Regions from separate parts of the Homo sapiens genome. Here all the other regions are linked to region 2. The links are contacts of gene promoters, found by promoter capture Hi-C in human tissues and cell types (Jung and others, 2019). All regions are on one chromosome and are shown on one strand. Each heading gives the region's core, a stretch centred on a gene start or on the middle of the fragment in contact. The rest is flanking DNA. Distances are from core to core; before and after follow the strand shown.

Region 1 (3,790 bases), core at 318-2,817, 51 kb before region 2:
TCAGGGAGGGAGTGTTACTATTTGTTCTCAGAACCCTGGCCTGGCCAGGCGTGGTGGCTCACGCCTGTAATCCCAGCACTTTGGGAGGCCGAGGCGGAGGATCATTTGAGGTCAGGAGTTTGAGACCAGCCTGGCCAACATGGTGAAACCCCATCTCTACTAAAAATACAAAAATTAGCTGGGCGAAGCAGGAGGATCGCTTGAACCCGGGAGGTGGAGACGAGATTATGCCACTGCACTCCAGCCTGGGCAACAGTGTGAGACTCTGTCTCAAAAAAAAACAAAAAACAAACAAAAAAGACCCTGACCTGAGAATTCTTGTCTCTGTTGGTCTATTATAAAGCTCTGGCCTCTTCTGAATTCCTGAATTTGTATGTCTAGCTAACCCTAGCAAATTAGTCTTTGTCAGAAGAGTGGGCAGAGAAGGAAAGAAGATCTTGTGACCCGGAGCTTGGGCATCTGTGTACATGGATGAGAAAGGCCACCTGGGTGAGTTTTAACATCCCCATATGCAGCACCGGGTCCTAGAACACCCAGGTTGTAATGCTGATTTTGCTGTTTTGCCAAGACAGAAAGTCACTTCTCTGTGGGCCTCAACTGTATACTGTGTATGGTGAGCTTATACATTCTCCTCACAGGTGGCCAGACAGCATGGTAAAGCCCGGATGCAGAGCTTGCTTCTGCACTATTGCAGATTTCATCTCTGGGGGATAAAAATGCTTGTCCATCTGGCATAACTTGGACCAGGTGATGCTAGAGCCCCAGAAGGGTAGAACTCTGCCTTTTGTCCATAATCTATAGTCCTAGCCCTTAGAAGGTTCACATGACATCTTTTTTTTTTTTTTTTTTTGAGAAGGGGCCTCGCCATGTTGCCCAGGCTGGCCTCACACTTCTGGGCTCAAGCGATCCTCCCACCTCAGCCTCCTAAGCAGCTAAGACCATAAGTGGTTGCTACCGCACCTGACTCATAAAATCATTTTTGAAATCGCCAGTGATAAGGGCTCTGTGTTTAGAAAACTTTCTTCCACGAGGGCTTCTGTAACTCTTTGGTCTCAGGAACTGCTTAGAACTTTGTAACTAATGGTGCTAGTTATGTTTCCTTGAGGCTACTCACCTAGGAAGCCCTTGGACACCATCTGTGTCAGCAGTTCTGGGTTTCCACCTCCAAACCGCTCCCCAAAGACTTTGCCCAGATCTTCCGCCACATGTTTCGCTACATCCACACCAACTTCATCCACCAGTGTGGCGGCACCCACAGGAAAGCCAAAGCTTGTGGTCAGGGAATCCAGCTTCTTCGGGTCAACTCCTTCCTGAACAGGAAGCGATGCAGGGACCTCAGGGGAAGGGCAGCCCAAATCCCCCCAAAGGGCTCCCTGTACTGGCTCCAAACACTGCCTTGTGTAAAACCCACTTCTGAGTGTCACCTGACCAGGCCCAGGACTGGTGCTATTTCATTCAGGGAAGCACAAAGAAGTTTGGGGCCACAAGTGGAAAGTCTGAGCCTTCTCTAATCTACAGCACTTTAAGGACGTTTAGAGATGACTAAATTCTTCATTTTCTTCTTGTTTGCATTTCTGAATCTCAATAATAAGGAGATTGCATGACAGACGGCTGAGTGTGTCATGACCAACAGAAGAAACATCATCAAAGAGGAGCACTCAGAGCCCTGTGATCCCCAAGTCTGGGTAAGTGCCCAGCGAGGAGGATCCCTCTCCTTTCCTGCCAGAATGACCTCGATGGCTACTGGAGAGGTCTGTGTGCTGTGGAAACAGATGCAGCACCAGTTGAACCAAGCGGGCCCTGTTCTGGATGGTCCCTGCCTCAGAGAGGTGCAGAAACAGCATAGAAGACATGCTGGGGGGTGGGGTGCCTTTAGCTTGCTGGAACAGTGAGGAGGCTGTGGGGCAGAGGGAAAGCTCTGCCCCTTTCAGTGCAGTATAAGCCCAACTTCCGACTGCTGTGCAGAGAGAGGGCACCAGGGACCTTCCTAGACAAGAGCAGGAGTTGGTGTATCAGAAGGAAGCTTGGTCCTTATCTTGACATCATGAGTTTTAGAGTGACTGAAGGAGTGGAAGATGCCGCAAACACTCTGGAGAGCAATACCAACCTGGAGGATTCGGATGACTTCAGACATCATGGGCGCAAGACACCTGGTAGTATAGAAGCCAGGTCCATCCTGCCAAGGAAGAGAACATGAGCTCCCTGGCCCTGCTGCTGGGACTGAGTCTGAAACACTCTACCTTTCCCAGGGTCACTTCAAAGTCATTTGAAAGTCACTGTAAAACTTAAGGTGACTTAAAATCTCAATCAGAATCCTTAAAAATGAAATTGCAGGGGAAGCCGTACTAGGGGTAGCCTGGCTTGAATCAAACAGTACAGCAGATAGTTTCATGGTCACCTTCAAGGTCTGGGATGGCTGGGAGAACCCTGCCACATCCTAGATACTCCCCACTCCCACCTTGACTCAGTGGGACAGTCAATACCACCGTCCATCCTGGAGACAACCCAGGGGAAAATCATATCAAAGTCTGGTCATTTGCCCCAGAATATTTATAAACAAGCCTGGAGGTAAAAGGAGTCTTATTAGAACTTTTCAAAAACTCTGCAGCTCTGTTATACAGCCCCTTACCTTAACCACAATGATGACCTTCCCCTGCTTGAGACCAACTGCTACAGCTGAAGCACTGGTGTCTTTGGAAGTTTTCTCGGTCGTGATAATCTCCAGCAGCTGCATCTTGTCCACGGGAGAGAAGTAGTGCATGCCAATCACCTGGCAAGGGGAACCAAAAGCCAACAGATCGGAGAATGCGGGTGAGGAACCTGAGAGCATTCCTTCTCTGCTAGGAAAACACTAGAAAGAAAGGTGGCTGTGATATAGGAATACTGCTTGACATAGCTGAGTGGTTTGGTTCCATGGGTCTTTGATAAAAGTTTAGTATGTTTAGGGAGAGCACATTGGAATCCTCCTCTTCCATTTGCTTCTAAGGTTTTTCACTACAGACATCTGATCCTCCCAACAATCAGTGCCAAAACCACAGCTCGAGGCCAAACTAGATTTATTGGGGAACGACGGATGAAGGTTCCACTTATATTAATGATACTGATGGTTTAGATAAGAGGATCCAGTTTTTTTGGGCGGGGGTGGGGCAGGCAGAAGAATTAATGTGTTGGGCTGTCAGAGAAGTATTTGCATTTTACACAGATGGGTCTCACCACCAGGATACTAGGTTTAACTAACACTCCTCAACAGTCAGATGCACTTAAGACTCATTAAACCAGCAGTTCTCCAAGTGTAGTACCCGGACCCAACAAGCACTGTCATCACCTGGGAGCGTTAGGCCTGCACATTCTCAGGCCTAGCCCAGCCCTACTGAATCAGAAACTCCATGGGTGGGGCCCAGATTTGTTTTAATAATCCCTCCTGGTGATTCTGATGCGTGCTAAGGTTTCAGAGAAACCCCTCATTGAGCTAACAGTTACATAGTCTTCCCAACAGAACTGTGGTGAAAGAAGTCTAATTCATTAATTTATAGTTTTGCTTTCTCCCTCTCACTTTAGCTATAAGGTACAACAAGTGATATCTGTAATTTTTGGCTGCTCATTATCTACCTGCTCTTCAATACATTTACCACTTATTCCTTACATTTAATCCATTACAACCCTATGAACTGGTCAGCCTAATTATCTAGATGAGGAAAAAAGGTATCAAGAGGTTAGTAGTACAGAGTCAGTCAGCATATGACGGGGTGGGATTCCATCACAGGTCTGTCTATCTCCAATGCCATTATGT
Region 2 (4,327 bases), core at 978-3,477:
GGTGAAAACACAATGCAAAGTATATATTTATGTGTCTATATATTTCTATACAGAAAACAGAAAAATTAGGTTGGTAGCTTTTTATTACACACATAAGATGTACAAATTACTTTTAAAAACTCTCAGATATATACAATCGTATTTCTTCCAGGCTGGAGTTAATAATATTTACTGAGTGCTTACTCCATGAAAAACTGCTTGATATCTAAAATAACTCCTTTTCATCACACAAGGTGGTATTATTCCCCATTTTACAAATGAGAAAACAAACACAGAAATTAATTGCCCAAGGTCATCAGAGGGTAAAAGGCAGAGCCAGGTCCAAACCCAGAAGTCAGACTCCAAACAATGTTTTTTTTGTTTGTTTGTTTGTTTTTGAGACGGAGGACCAGGCTGGAGTGCTGTGGCGCGATCTCGGCTCACTGCAAGCTCCGCCTCCCGGGCTCACGCCATTCTCCTGCCTCAGCCTCCCGAGTAGCTGGGACTACAGGCGCCCACCAACACGTCCGGCTAATTTCTTGTATTTTTAGTAGAGACGGGGTTTCACCGTGTTAGCCAGGATGGTCTCGATCTCCCGACCTCGTGATCCGCCCGCCTGGGCCTCCCAAAGTGCTGGGATTACAGGCGTGAGCCACCGCACCCGGCCCAAACAATGTTTATTAATTGCTCTGTCATGCTACTTCTCATGCAAAGGAAATCCATCATCTCAATCATTCATTTTGCAGATGAGGAAAATAAAGCCCATTTAGTTTAAGGCATTTGTCCAAAGTAACACAGCTAGTGACTAGAACCACGTGCCCTGGCTACCACTTCCGAGTGACATCAGCTGCCGATCCATAAGAAATACCTTCAAACCAATGCAGGGGTAAGATAAAAATTACACGTTACTTTTCAAAAGTGTTGTGAAAATAGGGGAAAAAAACCACCAAACCTGTAAGGAAACATAACCGAAGGCTAACCGTAGGTAAGCATATGAGTAGTAAGACAATGGGTGATTCGTTTTTTTTTCATCTCTTTCCTCAATCCTTACAGCATTTCAATGTTCTATAATGTGCTTATGTTATAATTGGCAAATACATGCTACAGTTTTGTGGAGACTAAAAACAGCTGTTGAAAAAAGGGAGCAGAAAAATATTCAATCATTAAAAAAATCCCCTTACAGTAAGGGATTTCAGCTACTTGTCTAAAAAAAGCATACTACTTCAGCGGTTCCGGAAGAGGGAAGAGAGGTAATTCATATTACAAATTAAATTAAAAGTTAAAATTTCTAGTTAAGTAACTTATTAAGCACAACATGCAATAAAACGTTGTCCACTTTTGACTTTACAGATTTGGGATGGAAAGAAAATGCAACGTTTCCTACAACCACCCACTTTAACCCTTTCACTGCCAGTTTGAAAAGGAAAAACACTAGCTAATACAGGCTGACTGGGAATCATCAGATTACAAATCGTTCTCAGAACGATCTAACATTTTATTGCTTAAGGTAGAGGTATTAGCGTATTTTTAAAGTGTGTCTTCCAGTAAGTTGCAGAACTTCCCGCTGAAATTCAAAATACTATACGTTCACACTGACATTACTGAAACTGCAAGAGTTGAGCTCCCTACTTGATTGGGGTAGTAAGCACAAAAATGGTTTTGAGGGAACGGAGCAGGGAGGGGCAGTGATCTGCAAGGCTGATTAATCCCATACAAGACAGCGCTTGTTGCGGGGTAAGGTGCTGTTTTTAAGACAGCTCTTGTTGCGGGGCAAGGTGCTGTGGAGCCACAAAGATGCGACAGAATGGATCCCGATTCTCCTGGAACTCCGGATCAAGAAAATATGAGGGGCGTGAGCCCAGAAGTGCGACGCAAGAGACCCGCGGAAAGGTGACAGAACGAGTGGCACCAGACTCAGAAAGTTGGGGAGTTAGGAAGCCTGAAATCGCCGCAGGAGTCGTGAGAGGGGAAGTGACAGTCTCTTCAGAAGGTCACGGGAAACCGGGTCCCAGGGCAGTATCCCCACAGAGGGCTGCGTCTCCGGGCTGGGGCAGGCGGCAGCGAAAGGGAGACGCGGCTCCGGGGCCACCCCAGTCCCGGCAGGAGTTCTGCCCGGAGGTCTGGGATGCCCTCGGCCAGGCCTCACCTCGGGAGCGGAGGATCCTGAAGGCAGAAAAGCGGCTGAGGATGCCAATCGCCCGGCAGGCCACCATCTTGAGCTGAAGAGGACAGCAGTGGAGAGCGCCTCTAACGGGTGCGGCCGAGCGGAGGACTTTTCTCCCGTAGCCTGGCAGCCAGGCGCCTGGAGCACTGCCTGACTAAAACCCAGATGCCGAGTGGCCGCCGGCCCCTTAGCCCTGCCCCTCGCTCCTGGCTAACATGGCCGAAAGGTCGTATTCTCCGGGGGAGGACGGGGGCCCGGAGAGGAGGGGGTGGAGTGCCTGGTTTTCCAGTCAGGCGGCCGGAGGGCAGCCCTCAAGAACGGCCCTGACCGCCCGCGGGGTGAGGGGCCCTTTCTGGGCAGGACCCGCCCCTTGGTCCCGCAGAGCCTTGGTACTTGGACCTGAACCTTGCTCCGAGAGGGAGTCCTCGCGGACGTCAGCCAAGGTGAGACGGCGAGCCCTCAGCTCTCCGCCCGGGCTTTCCCAAAGGCGAGATTCCACTTCCTTCCCCGCAACTGTCGCCGGTGCCCCCGGCCCCCTCCCCTCCCTGGGAAAGTGGGAGTTGAGGGAGCGGAAGGAAACTCCTCGGACAAGGTCGGCAGTGCTAGCTGCAGTTAGGACAGTGACTTGGACTAGCGTTCCAGCTGAAGTTCGGGACAGTAGTGTCACCTGCGCCCTAATTTATCATCACAAGTTAACGAAGTCTGGGGGTGTGGGGGTGTGTGTGTGTGTGTGGGTGTGTGTGGGCGTGTGTGGGCGTCGGCCTTAATGTAACCCTGGTCTGCGTAGAAGTGTGTGTTGTTTCGCCTGCTTCCCCTGTACCCAGGTCGGCGGCTATAGAGATTGTGGACGGCGCCATGGGTTTGCCCGATTTCTGCTGTAAAGAATAAGACTAGGTCAGGTGACCTTTCGGGGCTTGAGTGTGGGAGGAACGGAGACAATCCTCCATCCGGCTCCGTTATCCAGATAATCCTGCGCTCTCGGGGGTTTTCCGATCTGGATGATTATCTATCTGGTCGTTCACACCTCAGCTCACTTAAGCGGTGAAGAAACTGCCTACGAATCAGAGAGAGTGATTTTACCCATGGCCATATGTAGTAGAAATAAGACTGGAGCCTAAGTCTACTAACTCCTAGTGAAGAGTTCTTCATTGCATGGTAGCTGTTTTTGTGCTGGAATGATGGGCTGGAGTCCTGGAATAAAGTGATTGATTTCAAAAGGAAGTCACATTGAGAGCCTGCTGTGCTCTGGTCACCTTCATACCTTTTTGTTTAGTCCTCACATTCCCCAAATTATTATCATTTGCATTTTCTAGATGAAGTTTGGGAAGCTCAGAATATATACATTTTCTAGTCTGTGACAGACCTAGCATTCAGACATAAGTCTGAGTCTCACTACTCGCCAGACTGACAGCTCTGCAGGACAGGAAACAAGGGGCATCGAAGTTAAGACTGAAATGAGTATAGAGACAGAGTAGAGAGGTTTCTGTTTAAAGCTCAAGTTGCATAGTGAGTGCTCATCATGTGAGCACTTTAAGCAGAAACTGGATGACCTGACCACTTCTGAATAAATTGCAAAAAGGATTCTTGATAATCTTACAAGGTTTTTACAGTTCAGAGCCTGCCTCCTGCCCATGTAATGCTTTCTTCAACACCTAACTGCGTGTAACACTTATTATTTAGGTCAGAAGTGGTAAATTTTGTTGTTGTTGTTAAAGGTCCAGACAGTAAATAGTTCAGGATTTGCAGGATCACTTTGGTCTCTGTTATATATTGTTTCTTTTGTTTTGTTTTGTTTACAACTTTTTTTTTTTTTTGAGACAGTTTTGCTCTTGTTGTCCAGGCTGGAGTGCAGTGGCGCGATCTTGGCTCACTGCAGCCTCCTCCCGGGTTCAAGTGATTCTCCTGCCTCAGGCTCCCGAGTAGCTGGGATTACAAGCGCACACCACCACGCCGGGCTAATTTTTTGTATTTTTAGTAGAGACGGGGTTTCACCATGTTAGCCAGCCTGGTCCCGAACTCCTGACCTTAGGTGATTCGCCCACCTCTGCCCCCCAAAGTGCTGGGATTACAAGTGTGAGCCACCACGCCCGACCTTACAACTCTTTAAAAATGTGAAAAACTATTTTTAGCTAGAGGCCCGTGTGTTGTAGTTTGCCAATCCCTGATTTAGATCACTCATTTGGC
Region 3 (3,822 bases), core at 1,226-3,725, 58 kb after region 2:
CGTGAACACAGTCGTGGAAAAGGCTAGTCTGGACAGGAGTTTGAAAGCCGGCCGAGGCTAGAGAGAGATTAATGCGGACAGTGCAAAAGGAAAGGACACTAGAAGGATAAATGTCAAAAGAATAAGGAAAATGGTCAATGGTCTAACACCCGAGTGCAGCGTTCGGTTGCTAGTTGTCATGCTTCAAAGGCAGATCCTGATCTGATCGGCTTAGCGGGGGCTGAGAATTTAGAGGACTGATAGACCGGGCTCCATCCTTTTAGGCCCCGGGGAGCCTATAGTCTCTATGGAAGTAGGGGGCCAATTAATGGATTTTTTGGTCGATACTGGTGCTGATTTCTCTGTGGTAACTCACCAATTAGTCCCCCCACAAAGAACTGTGCTACTATCGTAGGGGCTACTGGCGCCAAAGAAAAGAGGCCTTTTTGCAAATCCAGGAGATGTATTATTGGGGGACAAAAAGTGCAGCATGAGTTTCTATATATGCCAAATTATCCAGTGCCCTTGTTGAAAAGAGACTTACTCCAGAAACTGCAGGCACAAATCTCCTTTACACCTAAAGAGAATATGACACTAGAGTTTAGAAAGTTTAAGGCAATGGTTTTGACTATAACTGTCTCAAGAACTGAGAAATGGCGGCTCTATAAACTGTGTGCCAGAAGGCCACTGGAGGCGGACCTACACAATATGCGGGGAATGCTTTTCAAGGTACCAGGTGTATGGACCGAGCACAACCTCCCTGGACTTGCTGCAAACAGACCCCCGGTCGTAGTAGAGCTTAGCCCTTATGTTCCCCGGTACAAGTCCGTCAATACCCACTACCCAGAGAGGCAATTGATGGCATAACGAAACATTTAAATCGGCTCTGTGAACATAGGATTATACTGAAATGCAAGTCCTCCTGGAATACTCCTCTGCTGCCTGTGCAGAAGCCAAATGGTGAATACAGGCCAGTTTACAAAGTGTCCAAGGACAAGGCAAAAGTCTTTTTTCAGCAGGTTGGATAGCTAAGATTCATGGTATCCCAAGGCCAGTGCAGGCTTGGAAGTGCACGCAAGGAGGCTGTAGGTGCATTGCCCACCCACAGGTCAGGGAATTTCTAGGTGCGGCGGGATTCTGCCGAATCTGGATTCCAAACTTCTCCCTTATAGCAAAGCCCTTATATGAGGCTACCAAAGGAAAAGAAAGAGAGCCCCTCCTATGGGAAAAGGAATAGGAAAAGGCCTTCAAAGATATAAACGAAGCTCTCATCCAAGCCCCGGCGCTAAGGTTGCCAGATATTAAAAAGCCCTTTTTTTGTATGTGAATAAACGAAAGGGAATGGCAGTCGGAGTCGTAACTCAGCTGGGCTCTTAGCATCGGCCGGTAACACACTTATCCAAGAGACTGGACTTGGTGGCCTTAGGTTGGCCCCACTGCCTCAGGGCGTTGGCAGCTACTGCAATCCTTCTAAAAGATGCCAACAAGCTAGCCCTAGGTCAGAAGTTAATAGTTCGGGTGCCACATGCTGTAGTCACCTTAATGGAGCAAAGAGGACATCATTGGCTGTCCAACTCTAGAATGCTAAAGTATCAAGGGCTTCTGTGTAAAAATCCCCAGATAACACTGGAGACTGTAAATACCTTGAACCCAGTTCCCCTGCTGCCTGTGGAGGAACCCGACTGGAAGGACGGTAGGTTGCCTCGCTGCTGGCAGGACCTTCTCCACTGTTGCCTAAATACGGTGGATGAAGTGTTCTCGAGCCAGGAAGATCTCAGAGATATCCTCCTTGGAGAGCCCAGATGTTGAATACTTCACTGATGGTAGCAGTTTCATAACAGATGGGGTACGATATGCAGGGTATGCCGTAGTGACCCAACACTCAGCAGTTGAGGCTCAAGCCTTACCTTCTGGGACTTCTGCTCAGAAGGCTGAATTAATAGCATTAACCGGATCACTGTTATTGGACAAGGGGAAGAAAGTAAATATATATACTGATTCAAGATATGCTTTTGCAACCCTGCATGCCCATGGGGCAACATGCAAAGAGAGAGGACTTTTGACTACTAAAGGAAAAAAAATTAAAAAAAAAAATAAAGAGGAAATTTTGCAATTATTAGAAGCCATATAGGCTCCAGAAAAGGTGGCTGTCATTCATTGCAAAGAACACTAAATGGAAAAAAGCTATGAATCACAGGGCAACAGAAAGGCAGACCTAGAGGCTCTGCGGGCATCAATGAGCAAGGCTTTACCTGAAGAAAGACCTATAGCAACGCCTCTCCTTATAGAGCCCCCTTTGCCGGAGGTACCCAATTACTCTTCAAGTGAAACAGCTTGGTTTGGTCAGGAAACAAAAAAATATATTAAAGGTGGATGGTGGCTCTGACAGGAGGCTAGCCATCCCAGAGACAATAGCCCCAAGGTTTGTGAAGCAGATCCATCAAGGAACACACATTGGAAGGACAGCTCTAGAGACTTGGATAGGTTGGCATCTCTATGTGCCATGGCTGTCTGCCATGACCCGTGCTGTTTGTGAACAATGTCTATCTTGTGCCCGGAGTAATCCAAAACGAGGACCTACTCAACCTCCAGGAATTCAGGAAGTAGGAGCTGTGCCTTGTGAGAACCTGCTTATAGACTTTACCGAGTTGCCTTGAGCAGGAGGTTACCAGTATATGCTAGTGTTTGTTTGCACCTACTCGGGGTGGGTTGAGGCCTTCCCCACCGGAACTAAAAAGACACAAGAGGTGACAAAGGTGCTACTGAAAGACATCATACCAAGGTTTGGGTCGCCTCTAACCCTAGGATCAGACGACGGTCCTGCATTTGTGGCAGAAGTTGTACAACAGCTAACTCAACTTTTAAAGATCAAATGGAAACTGCACACAGCCTATCGACCACAGAGTTCAGGGAAGGTGGAACGCATGAACCAGACACTCAAACAGCTACTGAAGAAATTGTGTCAAAAAAACTCATCAAAAGTAGGATCAGGTCTTGCCCATGGTCCTCCTCCAAGTCAGGTGCACCTCCACCAAACAAACTGGGTATTCGCCCTCTGAGATTTTTTTCGGCCGGCCACCCACCCACCCATCATAAGACAGATTAAAGGTAATCTCTGTAAACTAGAAGAACTAACTTTAAGAAGGCAAATGCAGACTTTAAGTATGGCCATGTAAGAATGCATGACTGGGTATAGAAAAATGCCTATAAGTCTAACAGACCCAGTACACCCTTTCAAACCTAAGGATTTTGTTTAAGCTAAAATAATGGAATCCAACCATTCTGGGACCCATACAGGATAGGTCTCGTATTGTAATCATGTCTGCTTCCACTGCTGTTAAAGTTGCAGGTGTCACACCTTGGATTCACCATAGCCAGCAGAAACCAGTGGCAACAGAGACTCCCGATGATAACCAGTGGATTAACCAACAAGACCCAGATCGCCCCACCTGAATAGTCCTACGGCGAAACCCAACCACCGGTAAGAAGGACAACTGGCCTGCTCTGACCACACCGGAGGATGGTCAGTCTATGCACGGCTGAAGCTTGAGGATCCTGCAAGCTCTGCTCTAGTCACATCCTGGAAGCTGACTAGTCTACGCACAGTCGAAGCTAAGAGGACCATATCCGGATAAGTAAATGTGGATACAATTTATAAGCCTACTTACAATTCTGTCAACACTGATTGCTCTGCTGTTATGTTATCATTGCAAATGCTGCAAATGTCTATGCCCAGAGGAAGGTTTGCCATGCCCATGTATAGTATAGGCATGTTTCTATTACATACACTGTTGTCGTTACCATTTCTGCCTATACTAGAAGGGGAGAAATCTCTAGAAGGAT

Evidence for each region. Contacts are between HindIII fragments. The study calls those that stand out against the background at their distance.
Region 1: a fragment that was not itself captured here is called in contact with the fragment with the promoter of HADHA in region 2 in 3 of the 25 tissues and cell types used here (aorta, dorsolateral prefrontal cortex and spleen).
Region 3: a contact is called between a fragment that was not itself captured here and the fragment with the promoter of HADHA in region 2, in 1 of the 25 tissues and cell types used here (spleen).

Annotation. Positions count from the first base shown.
Region 1 is chr2:26,192,463-26,196,252 of GRCh38, forward strand. It overlaps HADHA (hydroxyacyl-CoA dehydrogenase trifunctional multienzyme complex subunit alpha), which reads right to left. Exons shown (of 20, transcript NM_000182.5): 15 at 2,630-2,770; 16 at 2,108-2,176; 17 at 1,115-1,310. It also overlaps a transcript of GAREM2 not described here. Among named protein-coding and RNA genes, the nearest start is that of GAREM2, 21 kb to the left of the region's middle. The HindIII fragment of the contact is 5,401 bases long and covers 1-3,790 here.
Region 2 is chr2:26,242,405-26,246,731 of GRCh38, forward strand. HADHA (hydroxyacyl-CoA dehydrogenase trifunctional multienzyme complex subunit alpha) reads right to left here and starts at 2,228. Exons shown (of 20, transcript NM_000182.5): 1 at 2,126-2,228. The coding sequence starts at 2,192. It overlaps HADHB (hydroxyacyl-CoA dehydrogenase trifunctional multienzyme complex subunit beta), which reads left to right and starts at 2,535. Exons shown (of 16, transcript NM_000183.3): 1 at 2,535-2,586. RefSeq lists enhancers at 44-584, 2,070-2,750, 2,605-2,704, 3,563-4,290. The HindIII fragment of the contact is 15,994 bases long and covers 1-4,327 here.
Region 3 is chr2:26,300,509-26,304,330 of GRCh38, forward strand. LOC105374334 (a long non-coding RNA gene) reads left to right here. Exons shown (of 4, transcript XR_939853.3): 1 at 1-3,614. Among named protein-coding and RNA genes, the nearest start is that of SELENOI, 44 kb to the right of the region's middle. The HindIII fragment of the contact is 3,170 bases long and covers 891-3,822 here.